Regions from separate parts of the Homo sapiens genome. Here region 2 is linked to region 1. The links are contacts of gene promoters, found by promoter capture Hi-C in blood cells and fetal thymus (Javierre and others, 2016). All regions are on one chromosome and are shown on one strand. The core of a region is centred on a gene start or on the middle of the fragment in contact, and the rest is flanking DNA. Distances in the headings are between cores, read along the strand shown. Region 1 holds the start of ATP8B3 (ATPase phospholipid transporting 8B3). Region 2 holds the start of EFNA2 (ephrin A2).

Region 1 (5,663 bases), core at 2,277-4,776:
CCCGCCCCCACCCGGCCCGCAGCCCCTCCTGCCCCTCCTGCCAGGCCCTCCCTCCCGGGTGGTGGCCGGCACCTCTGCTCCTCACGTGGGTCGCGGGGCGGGCTTGTCCCAGGTTTGTTTGAGACAGTCTTTTTTTATTTTGTATTGTTATTTTTATTATTTTTAATTTAAACCTGATGACTTGCACAGCATCTTTCCCACCGGGAAGAGCGGGCCTGCTGCCTTCCCTCCTGCGGGGTGGGGGTGGGACAGACCCCAGTGGGGGCCAGGGCCACACTCAGCGCAGTGTGGGCTGGACCCGCCTCTGTGCTCCAGGGGCTGGCCGGTCTTCGGGGGCGCCGGCTTCCACCACTCGCCGCCCCACCCCTGCACTCCGTGACCTCTGAGAACCCAGCTGGCCCCTCGTTAGCCCCAGGGTCTGCCGTCTAGAGGGAGCCCACCGGCCTCCGGACACTGTCTTCCCGCTAGAGCCCCGTCCTCCTCTGCGGGGCTCTCCGGACCCCCTTCCCCCTCACCTCCAGGCAGGGACAGAATAAATGTTTGTATGGATTTTAGATTTTGTGGTGGTCTTGGTCTTGGTGCCTGGTGAGGCCTCTGCATGTGCCCCGGGGAGGCCACTGTCCCTGCAGCCGGGACTGATTCTCTTCCCATCAACGCAGAGAAAACAGAGCAGTGAAACTTTCCCTCACAAAAGCTGGCCCAGGGCTGGCTCCCCCAGGGCTGGGCCACACCTGCTGTGGGGTCCCAGTTCCAGCCCCAGATCATGGGCCACCATCCTGCAGCTTCTAGTGCCTCTCGGACAGTGGGTGGTGTCCCCAGCCCTGTGTGGAGCTGGGCCCTGTGCACAGAGCTGGCTTCCCTCTCTGCCCTGCCCAGAGATAGGGACTGCACACAGATGGTGAGAGGGGGTTAAAGAGACTGGGAGCTGCTGTGTGTTGCCCGTCAAAGGATGGAGTGCAGACACGGAAAGCTGCTCCGGCCCTTGCCAGGAAACGCCACACATTGTGTAGTGCACGCACGTCTCGGGCAACTGTGGTTGCATCGGGACCCCATTTGGAAATGGGAGGCCCAGGGGTGTTTAGGCCCCACTTTTTATTGACCTCAAGTAGAAAAAGTGATGAGCCTTGCGGGACAGGACCCAGCAGCTGGGGGCAGGTTGCCTGGAGTGGGTTTCCTGCCACCCTGGTCTTGGGCTTCTGCTGAAGGGCAAGGCCAAGGGCACAGGTCCCGGGATGAGGACGTGGGGGCCCTCCCCAGAGGACTCCATCCCAAGGCTCCCTTCCCGGTTCTGGGCTCTGCATCTCTCCAGGGCCCTCCTGGGGGACCGTGGTTAGGCCAGGCCCTTCCACCCTCGAGGGCTGTTCTTGTGACTAGTGACTCTCCCACCTCTTCTGTAAAGGAGTTGTTTTCTTTTTCTTCTTTATTTTTGAGACACAGTCTCGCTTTGTCACCCAGTCTCAGCTGGCTGCAACCTCTGTCTGCCGAGTAGCTGGGATTATGGCTGTGCCATCACACCTGGCTAATTTCGTATTTTTAGTAGAGATGGGGTTTCACCACGTTGGCCAAGCTGGTCTCGAACTCCTGACCTCAAGTGATCCACCTGCCTCGGCCTCCCAAAGCGTTGGGATTACAGGCATGAGCCACTGTGCCCGGCTCTGTGTTCTAAATAAATGGCGCAGGCGTGTATGCGCTCTGTTTCTGTGCATTCCCATGTGATGTCTGCCTCCCCCTTCCCAGAACGCACCTGGTGCCTCAGGACATAGCCCACGGGGGGTCCCAAGGCTGGCCAGCCCTGGCTTCAGCCCCCAGGGACTCCCTTCAGCTTGTGAAGCCACCTGTTGCCACTGGAGGCTTCAGGGCCTTTGCACAAGTGCCCTGGGCAAGCTCCTGCCCCCAGATAGTGCCCCCTGCGAAGGCTGGGGTGGGGGAATCTGGTCCTCACAGCTGCACCCAACCAGGTCTCTTCTAAAGTTTATTAGAACAGTGTGTTCAAACTCCCAGCCCCGGCTTTTTTTCGTAACCACTGAGCAAGCAAGCAAGCACAGGGGAAGTGTTGAAGGAATGAAAGGAGAGAAGTCAAACACAGTGGCCTGCCTGCCTGCTTGTGGTCCCAGCTACTCTGGAGGCTGAGGCAGGAGGATCGCTTGAGCCCAGGAGGTGGAGGCTGCAGTGAGCTCTGATCGCACCACTGCACTCCAGCCCGGGTGACACAGTGAGACTCTGTCTCCAAAAAAAGAGAGGTTCCCTGGCAGCCTCCAGGGCCAAGCAGGCTTCCAATTTGGGCTTCCAAAGAAAGAGGGTTTGTGATCACCGAGAGCCCTCAGGTGGTTGCCGCTTTGATGGGGGAGGTGGCTTCCCTATCCCCCTCCACCCATGTTTGCCTCTCCCTTTGGGCCCTCACCCCAGGTAGCCTCACTCTTGGGGGCATTTCATCTTCAGCAGCCCCTCCGCACACACTTTCTGACCCTGGCTCCAGGCCCTATCGCTGGCCTGGACCCGCCCTAGCCTCGTCGCTGAACTCACCCCTGCCACTTCTTCAGTAAGGATCCCTGAGCCCCTGCCACCTGCTGGAAAGAACCCTGCGGGCTTCCTCTTGGCCTTAGGGTGGTCTCAATGGCTATAACCGCCTCTCCCCAGCCTGGTGCTCAGCCCTGCATCTGCGCCTAGGAGGCGCTCGTTGAACGTGTATGGGATGAATGAACGAACCCAGGACACGGATCAGACATGACTTACATAACCGCCGTTACCTGTGGTCCTTCCTCCTGCACTCTGCCACGCTGGCCGCACCAGCCTCAGCCCCGTCAGGTCTGCAAGGCCCATTCCGACCTGACCCAGGCCCACCTTTCCAAGAACCCTTCCAACCCCGCCCTGCGGTGCAGGTTCTTTCTGCTCCCTGACCAAGCCCGGCCCGGCCCTGCCCTGACACCCTCTTCCCTTTCAGGCTCCGCCCCTGCACTGGCACTGCTCCCTAAGGCCCTCCCAAGGCCCTGCCTTCTGTCCTGGACCCACCCTGAGCGCCCTCCTACCCTGACCCTGCTCTGCGCGGCCCCGCCTTCCTCCTTTGTAACGGCTCCGGATCCCAGCCCCGCCCCTACCATAACACTGCTCCGCAAGGCCATGCTCAACCCCGCTTCCCGCTCTGGCCAAGCCCCTGAGTCCTGGCCCCGCCCCTACTCTGACTTTGCTCAGCGAGACCCCGCTCGTCCTCGCCTTCCTTCTAGTCCCTTCCCCAAAGTCCCGGCCCCTCCCCAGACCCAGGCACTGCTCCCGAGCGTCTTCTATCCCGGCCTGTTCTGCGAGGCTCTGCGAGGCCCCGCCCTTCGGCCGTGACCGCGTCCCTGAGGCCTGGCCCCCATCCTGCTCGGCCGTGCTCCGCTCGGCCCCACCCTCGAGGCCCCGCCCCTTCTTCGCCTTGGCCCCACCCACCCCCTCCAGGCCCCGCCCCCGGCCCCCTTCCGGGGTCCGAACTGGCTCCACCTTCGCCTTGGCCGGGCCCCGAGGCCCCGCCCCGAGATCCCGCCCCCCGTTTCAGGACCGTTGGCACCGGGCTAACGGTTCCACCACGTCCGCCGCCCTGGACGCCCGCGGCCTGCCCCCCCCTGCCTCTCCTGCGCCGGTGAGCGGCGGGTGCTCCCACTGCTGTGCGTCCCCGGGAGCCCGCGCACCCTCTCTGGGCTCCACCCAGGCTGAGAGCTGGGGTCGTGGCGGCGGGGGTGGAGAGCGCGCCCCTAGAGGTTCGCGCGGTCGGGGCCCCGGGGCGGGTGCAGACAGCCCTGGACTCTGGAGCCCTGTCCAGGGCGGTCCTGTGCCCCTGCGGCTGCGGGAAGACGGGGTGGGGGGCTTCCGAGTAATGGGGCATCCCAGTTAGTGAGGGGGCAGGAAGCCAGCGCTGTGTCCGTGTCTCTTTCTGCCCCCAGATACACTTCGAGTGGATTCTGGCCATTTGAGCATTCTCTCCAACTCTCCAATCCCCAGTCTGCCCCCACGGGGGTCTCCCCCACCTCTCCCCCGTCCCACAGCCTAAACCCCTCTTCGCCCTGAACCTCCCTTTTCCTCATGCGGTGAATGGGCACTGGCCCCGCTCAGACTCCCAGGAGCACCAGAGCTGGCCCTGAGCCAAGCCCTGCCCCACCAGGACCTGGGGACACGGGTGACTCAGACGTGACTCAGGAAGGCTCAGGTCCTGCTGGCATCCGCGGAGGTGAGACGGTGATCAGAGCTGGGATGGGAGACTCCCCAGGCAGAGGGGCACCTGAGAGGAGGCACAAGGCCCAGCCTGGCCGGGCTAGGAAGTATGAATGGAGACCAGAAGGGTGAGGACGGGTGCATCGGGTGGCCGGAACACAGGGGCAGGGGCTTGGCGGGGAGGGCACTGCTAGAGAGCTGGCAGGTGGGGGGCCAGTTGCTGGCGTCTAGGGGTGGTTTGCCCATCCTCATAGGGGGCCAAACCAGGGCCCCCGGTGCAGGGCTAGAGCCAGACCCACATTCCTGAACCTGCTAGTGGAGAAGATTCCAGGATCTTCTGACGATGTCCGTCTGCCTCCATCGCCCCCATCAGAGTTTGCTGCCCAGCCTGGGGGGGTGAGGAGGGGAGTGGCCATGCCTGACCCTCATGCTGTGTTTTGAGATATAACATATAGCCCGGGGGTCCCATTCAGTCAGTGAACAGATGACTGAGCCCCTAAGCTGGTGCCACATGGGGAGAGGGGCAGGAGGCCGTCAGTGAAACCAGGAGGAGGTGAGAGTGGTCCTTTCAGGAAAAGCGAGGTGTGGGGAGCAGTGGCCGGAGGCTGGCATGGCCAGAGGCTGGCATGGCTGGCGGTAGAGTCCTTCTAGGCTGTACTGGCGGGAGGCGACCAGGGTGGCTGGCGGGGGACACTGGCAGATGGGCTGTTGCAGGTTTGAGGATCATCTTGGGGTCCCCTAGGTCTCAGGATGTCCAAGGCAAGACACACAGCCTATGGCTGGACATTCAGAGCCTGGCGGGGAGGCTGCAGATGAGTGTGGGAGGTAGCATTTGAGAGGGTCGGCCCCTAGGCTGTGAGCTCCTTGAAGACCGAGTGGTGCCCAGCAAGGGCTGGGGTCACTGCTGTGACCCGGGGCCCTTCTCTCCCACAGCCCCACCAGCATGGGCAGCCTCGGCCAGAGAGAAGATCTCCAAGATGAGGACAGGAACTCAGGTGCTGATCCTGGGCAGAGGGGGCGGTGCAGGTGGGAGGGATTATGAAGTTCAGGGCTGGCCAGGCGTGGTGGCTCTCCCCTGTAATCCCGGCACTTTGGGAGGCTGAGGCGGGTGGATCACTTGAGGTCAGGGGTTCGAGAGCCTGGGCAACATGGAGAAACCCCGTTTCTACTAAAAGTACGAAGATTAGCTGGGCGTGGTGGCGTATGCCTGTAATTCTAGCTACTTGGGAGGCTGAGACAGGAGAATCACTTGAACCCAGGAGACCCAGGAGGTGGAGGTTGCAGTGAGCTGCGATTGTGCTACTGCACTCCAGCCTGGGTGACAGAGCGAGACTCCATCTCAAAAAAAAGAAAAAAGTGCAGGGCTGAGGCTGAGACGGGCTGGGGCCCCCAGACCTGCACGTCAGGCCTTGCCTAGGATTCTCATTTGGTTTCTAGTAGTCTCCAACCCTAGTACTGACTGGGTTTGGGGGATTTGG
Region 2 (6,453 bases), core at 2,218-4,717, 530 kb after region 1:
CCACGTCCAGGCCATGGCCAGGCCCCGGCAAACTTTTTTTGCTCTGACCAACGGGGGCTTCTCCTGTCCCCCACGTTGTGCCTGGCCCGGACCTGGTTCAAAACAAGGGGGCCTGCAGCAGGCGGGTGCGGCATCTCGGCCGGGCGTGGCAGGCAGGGCACTGGGCCACCTGGGTCCTGCCCCCAAGTCCCCCCCTTGCATGACCTTGAGCCAGCTCCTCATCCCCTCTGCACCTCAGTTTCCTGGTCAGCGCCCAGAGGACAAGAGAGGACTCCATCCCACTGCCCCTCCCGGGGCTGACCCCCAGCTCCCCGGCCCCTCAGTCTCCTTTCAAAGCTGGGCCCTTGGCCCCCTGGAGTGAAGCAGATGCTGGGTCCTGAGGGAGGGACACTCCAACTTCCCCAAGTTCATCTGGGGACCTGCGGGCAGGACGAACCCAGAGATCCCTCGAGGGCCACAGTCCCCCACCTCCGGTGCCAAGGTCCCCGGGGATCCCCACCAAATGCGAAACCGAGGGGGCTCCCCAGAGAAGCGGGTGGATCAGGGGTCCCCCCAAGTCCAGGCAGGCAACTCAGGGGCTACCCGGCATCGGAGGGTACCAGAGGGGTTCCCCAAACTCCAGGAGACGTCGGCGCTCTGGGGGATGTGGGGCGCGAGTCCCCACAGTCCGTAGGGCAATGGGGCGCCCCGGGGAAGGCAGGCGCGAAAAGGGCGAGTCCCCCAAACTCCGGGGGGCCGGAGCTCCCTGGGGGGCTCCCGCGGGAACCGGGCGCCCGCATCCCGGCGGCGGCGCGCGCGTGGGGGGCGCCCGGAGCTCCGGGGGCGCGAGGCCGGGCGCGGCTTGGGGGGCGTTGGGGGGTCCCCGGGCGCCCCCCGCGCGCGGCCGCGCTCACCTGGGGTTGCTGCGGTTCCAGTAGACGGCGTAGCGGTCCGAGTTGGCGCGGGCGGCGTCCTCGGCGCGCGCGAAGGGCGGCGGCGGCAGCGGTAACAGCAGGAGCAGCAGCGGGAGCAGCGGGCGCTGCGCGGGCGCCATGGCCCCGGTCCGGCCGCCGCGCTCGCTCTCCCGGCCGCCGCCTGCCAGCCTTCTCCGCCTCCTCCGCCGCCGCCGCCGCCGCCGAGCGGGCGGGCGGAGGGCGGGCGGGAGGAGGGCGCGGCGGCGCTTGGAGATCCCGGGCCGCCCCCGCCTCCGCGCGCGCGACCTCGGGCGCCGAGAAGTCAGGCGGCGGCGGGGCGGGGCGCCGGGGTCGCCCCGGGCGCAGGACCCGGCCGCGCGGACTGTCGGAGCGCGGGCCGCCGCCGCCGCACCCGCCGGGGAGGGGCCCGGGCTCCGGCCTTTGTCCCGCCCGAGCGTCGGGAGGGCCGCGGGCGCCCCCTCCCGCCGTGCCCCGGCCGCGCGGGGACTGGGCGGGGGTCTCCAGCCTGCGCCCGCCCCCTGCCCCGGCCCACCCCGTCTCAGGCTCGTCCCCCGGGGCCTGCCCCCAGCGACCCCGATTCTGCGCGCCCCCCGCCGGCATCCGCGTGGCCCGGCCTGGGGTCTCCGAGGGGCGGGGGCGCACCCTGCCTCCCGCGCCCCCACGCGCTCCACCCGGCCCGGCCCTGGGTCCCGGGCCTCTCACCTGCCCGGTTCCAGCGCTATCCGCAGCCTCACCAACCCCGACGCACGCGTCCCAAATCGGGCTCGGCCAACTCCAGTCTCCCTGCGGGGGCCGGGGCAGAGTTTCAGAGGGGCGCTGGCCAAAGTCCAAAGCTGCTCGGGCTGCGACCTCCCTGGGGCCCTCCTGGGAGTCGCCTCTCCGGACCCACGCTGTTCCCTGGGGATGGAGTAAGTCCCTACACCTCAGCCCTAAGGGTGCCGGGAGCATAGTAGGTGGACCGATGTGGAGTGTGAGCAGCTGGGGATGGGATCCAAGAAGCCCAGAGTGAAGCCCCGGCCGACAGCAAATCAGTCTCCACGCACGAATCCTGCAGGCAGGGGAGGGCCGCTGCCCGGGGGCACAGCTTGTGCAAAGACCCGGGGTCTGATCTGTTCAGGGAACGCCGAGTGATTTCTCCTCCTGGTAGGCTGACACAGGTGGGGAACTGGGGGCCTGGCCTCTGCTTTGTCTTTTTTCCAATCTATAGAGACAGTGTCTGGCCATGTTGGCCACGCTGGTCTTGAACTCCTGGGCTCAGGCGATCTTCCCACCTGGGCTTCCCAAAGTGCTAGGATTACAGGCGTGAGCCACTGCACCTGGCCTGCCCTCTGTTTTTGCCCTTATTCATGCCACAGCCTCCCTCACCAGACTCTGAGCTTGTGGAGGGTAGGCTGTCATCAAACGCTGGCTGGACTTTGCTGGCGATGCCCAGATCGTGTTGTACGTCTCTGAATTAGTGTCATTCACCAGGCCCAGTGCAGGAGAGGGAACTGCAGGGCAAGCACCAACAGCCCTTGGACCCGAAGGTCCCTGTGTGAGGCATTACCCAAACTCCTGGCAGGGACCGTGAACCCAGAGATGGGCAAGCTAACCTGTGCCCCAGCAAGGTGGGGTGGGGACCGGACCCACCACCGTCCCACAGCTCTGAGACGTGGTGGGCTCTGTCCTGTGTCTCCTGCGTGCCCTCCTCCCCCGATTCCCCAGCGGGCCACGCGGGCCACACCACCTGACCTTTGTTCAGGCTGGGTCCTGCTGGGAAGTCCTTCCACTTTTTCTTCCTGTTAAAATCTTGCTCTTCCAGAAAGGTCTGTCCCACCCAGTGCTCTAGCGTCCCTGCCAGGACAAGGTTCTCAGTTCTCTCTCCTCCAGGGAGCTCAGCCCGTCTGTTCTGAGCTCCAGGTCTCATCCCCTGACCCCACTACAGACGTCCCAGGTCGAAGGCCCAGGGCTGGCCGGGTGTCTCTTCAGTGGAGGGCGTGAACCTGTCCCAGGTGGTGGCTGAGGCAGGCCCTCTGGACAGGCTCTCTCAGCACCCCTGGAGTGAGGGCCTTGGGTTCTAGCCACACAAGGCTCTGTAGCCCAGACAGGCTGGAGAAGCTTCCCGGGCGGCTCCGTCTGGTGGGGGGCTCTTTTAGGGAGGGGGACGGCCACTCCCGGAGGTGAGCACTTTCGGAGCAGAGTGTGGCGGCTGCACCCAAGCACAGGACAAGGGGCCGTGAGCCTGGGGTCTTGGCGTGCCCGGCCCCAGCATGCCACCTGGCAAAGGTGGGAGTTCTGGAAGCTTCCTTCTACCCTGGGACCAGAAGCCCCCTCCTGCTTCAAGGGATCTCGTGGGTGAGGAGGGGTGGGCCAGGGTCGGGAGGAGGGGGTCTCTTCTCAAACCAGGACTGGGACCTGCACAGGTGGGAGCTGGAAGGGCACCACCTCCACCCAGGCATGGCAGGGCCACTCATTTGCATGCAGGGGCCACCGAGGCGAGAGCCGCCACCACCGCCACCGCTGAACGGATTTGAGCAGAAGCTCCGTTTTCCTTCTGTTCTTGTCTCTCTCAAGGTCAGAGCCCAAGCAGGGACGGGAACAAAGGCGGTGCGTCCCCCATTCAACCTCCCCGCGCCCGCTGGCCGCTCCTAGAGGAAGGACCTGGGGAAGGGAGGGGAGGGCAGGGCGTCTCCGAGGCCTGGCCCTGGGCGAGGCTGCCCCGGCAAACCCCTGCCTGGCAGGGGGGCCACTGTGGGGGTCCAAGAAGCCCTGTTCCCTCCTGGGGCTGGGAGCTGTCCCGGCTTTGGGACGCAGCCGCGGCCGGAGGTCACTCTAGAGTAAGCTTCCTGTGGAGCCAAGGGTCAGAAATCAGGCTCACTCTGGGAACAGGTGTCCGCCAAGGTCAGGGGTTATCCAGGGTCGCCCTCAGTCCCTGGTCTGGAGCCAGTACAGGGCTTGATGGGGTCTGGCCCCGCCCCCTGCTCTGCACTGCTGGGACTGGGGTCTACCCAGACTCAGGAAGGGACTTGTCCAGCCCGTGCCCAGCACCCACTGCCCACATGGCCAGGCCACAGGGCTTGGGATCAGCGTCCCGCAGCCCCTCAGCCTTCAAAGGCCGCGACGCCAGGAGGAAGCTAAAAATATGCGGGGAGAATTTCTCATTACAGAATAAATTGGACCCAATGCGCTGCCTGCCCTGGTGCCGGCAGCCTTCAGAAGCCCCATCTCAGCCAGGCAAGGATCAGGCGGCAGGGGTCACGGGGCGCTGGGGCCCGGGCAGGTCACAGGCTCCACTCAGGGCGGGAGCCCCACCGCTGTCCATCGCCCCCCACCTGCGAAGCACGGAGCTGGGGTCTGCGCTTAGCCCCAGGGGCCAGGGGCGTTTCCCCTGGGCTGGGTCGCTGTCCTTGAAAATAAAAATGTATCCCTTTCTCCAGTGGGTAACATGAAAATCCCCACCCCCATCCAGCCATGGACCCAAGATTCCTGCAACCCCTGCAGCCAGTGGTGGAAAAGAGCAGGCACACAGCCCCATTCCCAGCTCACCCTCCTCCCTCCTCCCCAGCTCCCATCCTTCCCATTCTCCTCTCTTCACACTCTCCTCCCTCCCTCCTCCCCTCCCTCCCTCCTCCCTTCACACCCTCCTCCCTCCCTCCTCCCTTCACACCCTCCTCCCTCCCTCCTCCCCTCCCTCCCTCCTCCCTTCACACCTTCACACCCTCCTCCCTCCCTCCTCCCCTCCCACCCTCCTCCCCCTCCTCCCTTCACACCCTCCTCCCTCCCTCCTCCCCTCCCTCCTTCCCTTCACACCTTTCCCCTCCCTCCCCCTCCCTACTTCCCTCCCACCTCCCCTCCCTCCTTCCCTTCACACCTTCCCCTCCCTCCCTCTCTCCTTCCTCCCCTTCCCACCCTTCTCCCCTCCCTCCTTCCTTCCCCCTTCATACTACCCTCCCCTCCCTCCTCCCCCTTCCCACTCTCTTCCCCCTTAATACCCCCTCCCTTCCTTCCTCTCTCCCTCTCCTTTTACACCTTCCTCCCCTTCTCAGTCCTCCGCTCCCTCCTCCCTCCTTCCCCTTCACACCCTCCTCCCCCCTCCTTCCCCCATCCTCTGCACCCTCCTCTCCTTCCTCCTCCTCCCCTTCCCTCCTTCCTTCCTTCCTCCTCCCATCCTTCCTCTCCATTCACATCCTTCTCCTTCCCACTCTGTCCCCTCCCTCCTCCCCTTCCTCCTCCTTCCTCTCTCCCTCATCCCACCTTCAGGTCTGGGGCCTGAACACAGACCCGTTCTCCAGTGTCCAGACACCACCAGCGTCCAGAACTTTCCAAGACAAAGGAAATGTCCCTGCCCCCACCAATCGCTGTCCACCACAGTGACTGAGGCCCCAGACCTCTCCCCACGGCGACTGAGGACCCGGACCTCTCCCCATGGCGACTGAGGACCTCTCCCCATGGTGACTGAGGCCCTGGACCTCCAGTTTTATGTAACTTAATGAAATAACGTGAATAGCCATGTGTGGCTTTGTGTCCCACAGCAAAGCACTGGGTGCTTCTCAGGGGCTGGCTGGCCTAGGACGGGGACGTCAGTGGCCTTAATGTGGGGTCAGTGGTGGCTCAGGCCCCCCACAGAGGAGATGGGCACCTGGGGGTGAGATCCCTGGAGGTGGGGAGTCGAGGGTACAGGGGTCTCAGCACCCCCAGAAGAGGCAGAGAGCCCTCCGTCGCCTGCCAACCCGAGTGACTGTGATTTGGCACATGGGGCCACATCCCTGGGGCACCCCGGCACCAGGGCGGCAGAGGAGCCCTGTCTCTATCTCCCCAGGATGAATGTCGGCCCCAAGCTGTGGGCACAAGCCGGCGCCGCAAGGAACCCAACGCATCCCGCCTTTGAGGCCACGTCCCCAGCGCCCACCCGCCCCTATTTCACAAGCGGAGAAGCCCCGCAGTGAGTCCACTGGACTCCAGCCTGGGCGGGGCCCGCTGCTGAAGCAGAGACCCCCACCCCCCCCCACCCAGAGGCACAGACCTGATATGCTGCTTGTCCAGTGGGCACACCGAGGGGCAAGGGTGGGGGGCATGGGTCTGAGACACTCCCCGGCGTGGGGTTAGGAGCTGAGCAGGTCACACCCATGTGTGTGATCGCGTGTCCCACGGGGCTGCGGGCGTCCCATCCATGGAACTGTCCGAGTTGCTTACCGTGTGTCTATGAGACTGTATTTTGTGGGTGCCTGCGTGTCTGCGTGTCTGCGTGGGAGAGGTGGAGGAAGCCACTGCCCGCCCCCGCAAGCTCCCAGGCACCCGCACACACACGCACTCCCACGGGCACACACACGCTCACAAGCCGAGCACCAGCCGGGACCTGGGGCCTTTCATTTCTCGCTGACAGGCCCCTCTCCGGCTCTGAGCCCAGGAGAACCCCTGGCTAACAGTGCATTAACCTTGGGGGGCTGCCAATTACTCTGCAGCAACGTGGGGTGCAGCACGGGCCCCGACAGGCAGAGGGGACGGAGGCAGCAGAGCCCCTCTCCCTGCTCGAGCGGGGGGCGGCGGCGGCTGGGCTGGG

The links. Contacts are between HindIII fragments. The CHiCAGO score rates a contact against its expected background, and 5 or more counts as called.
Region 2: a contact is called between a fragment that was not itself captured here and the fragment with the promoter of ATP8B3 in region 1, in 1 of 17 cell types (activated CD4 T cells). The highest score is 5.2, in activated CD4 T cells.

What each region holds. Positions count from the first base shown.
Region 1 is chr19:1,810,139-1,815,801 of GRCh38, reverse strand. ATP8B3 (ATPase phospholipid transporting 8B3) reads left to right here and starts at 3,526. Exons shown (of 29, transcript NM_138813.4): 1 at 3,526-3,616; 2 at 3,918-4,313; 3 at 5,119-5,180. The coding sequence starts at 4,066. REXO1 (RNA exonuclease 1 homolog) reads left to right here. Exons shown (of 16, transcript NM_020695.4): 16 at 1-554. RefSeq lists enhancers at 2,733-2,892, 3,273-4,018 and a silencer at 3,443-3,812. The HindIII fragment of the contact is 25,835 bases long and covers 1-5,663 here.
Region 2 is chr19:1,280,749-1,287,201 of GRCh38, reverse strand. EFNA2 (ephrin A2) reads right to left here and starts at 1,329. Exons shown (of 4, transcript NM_001405.4): 1 at 894-1,329. The coding sequence starts at 1,033. RefSeq lists enhancers at 1,244-1,744, 1,745-2,245, 3,769-4,615. The HindIII fragment of the contact is 540 bases long and covers 3,198-3,737 here.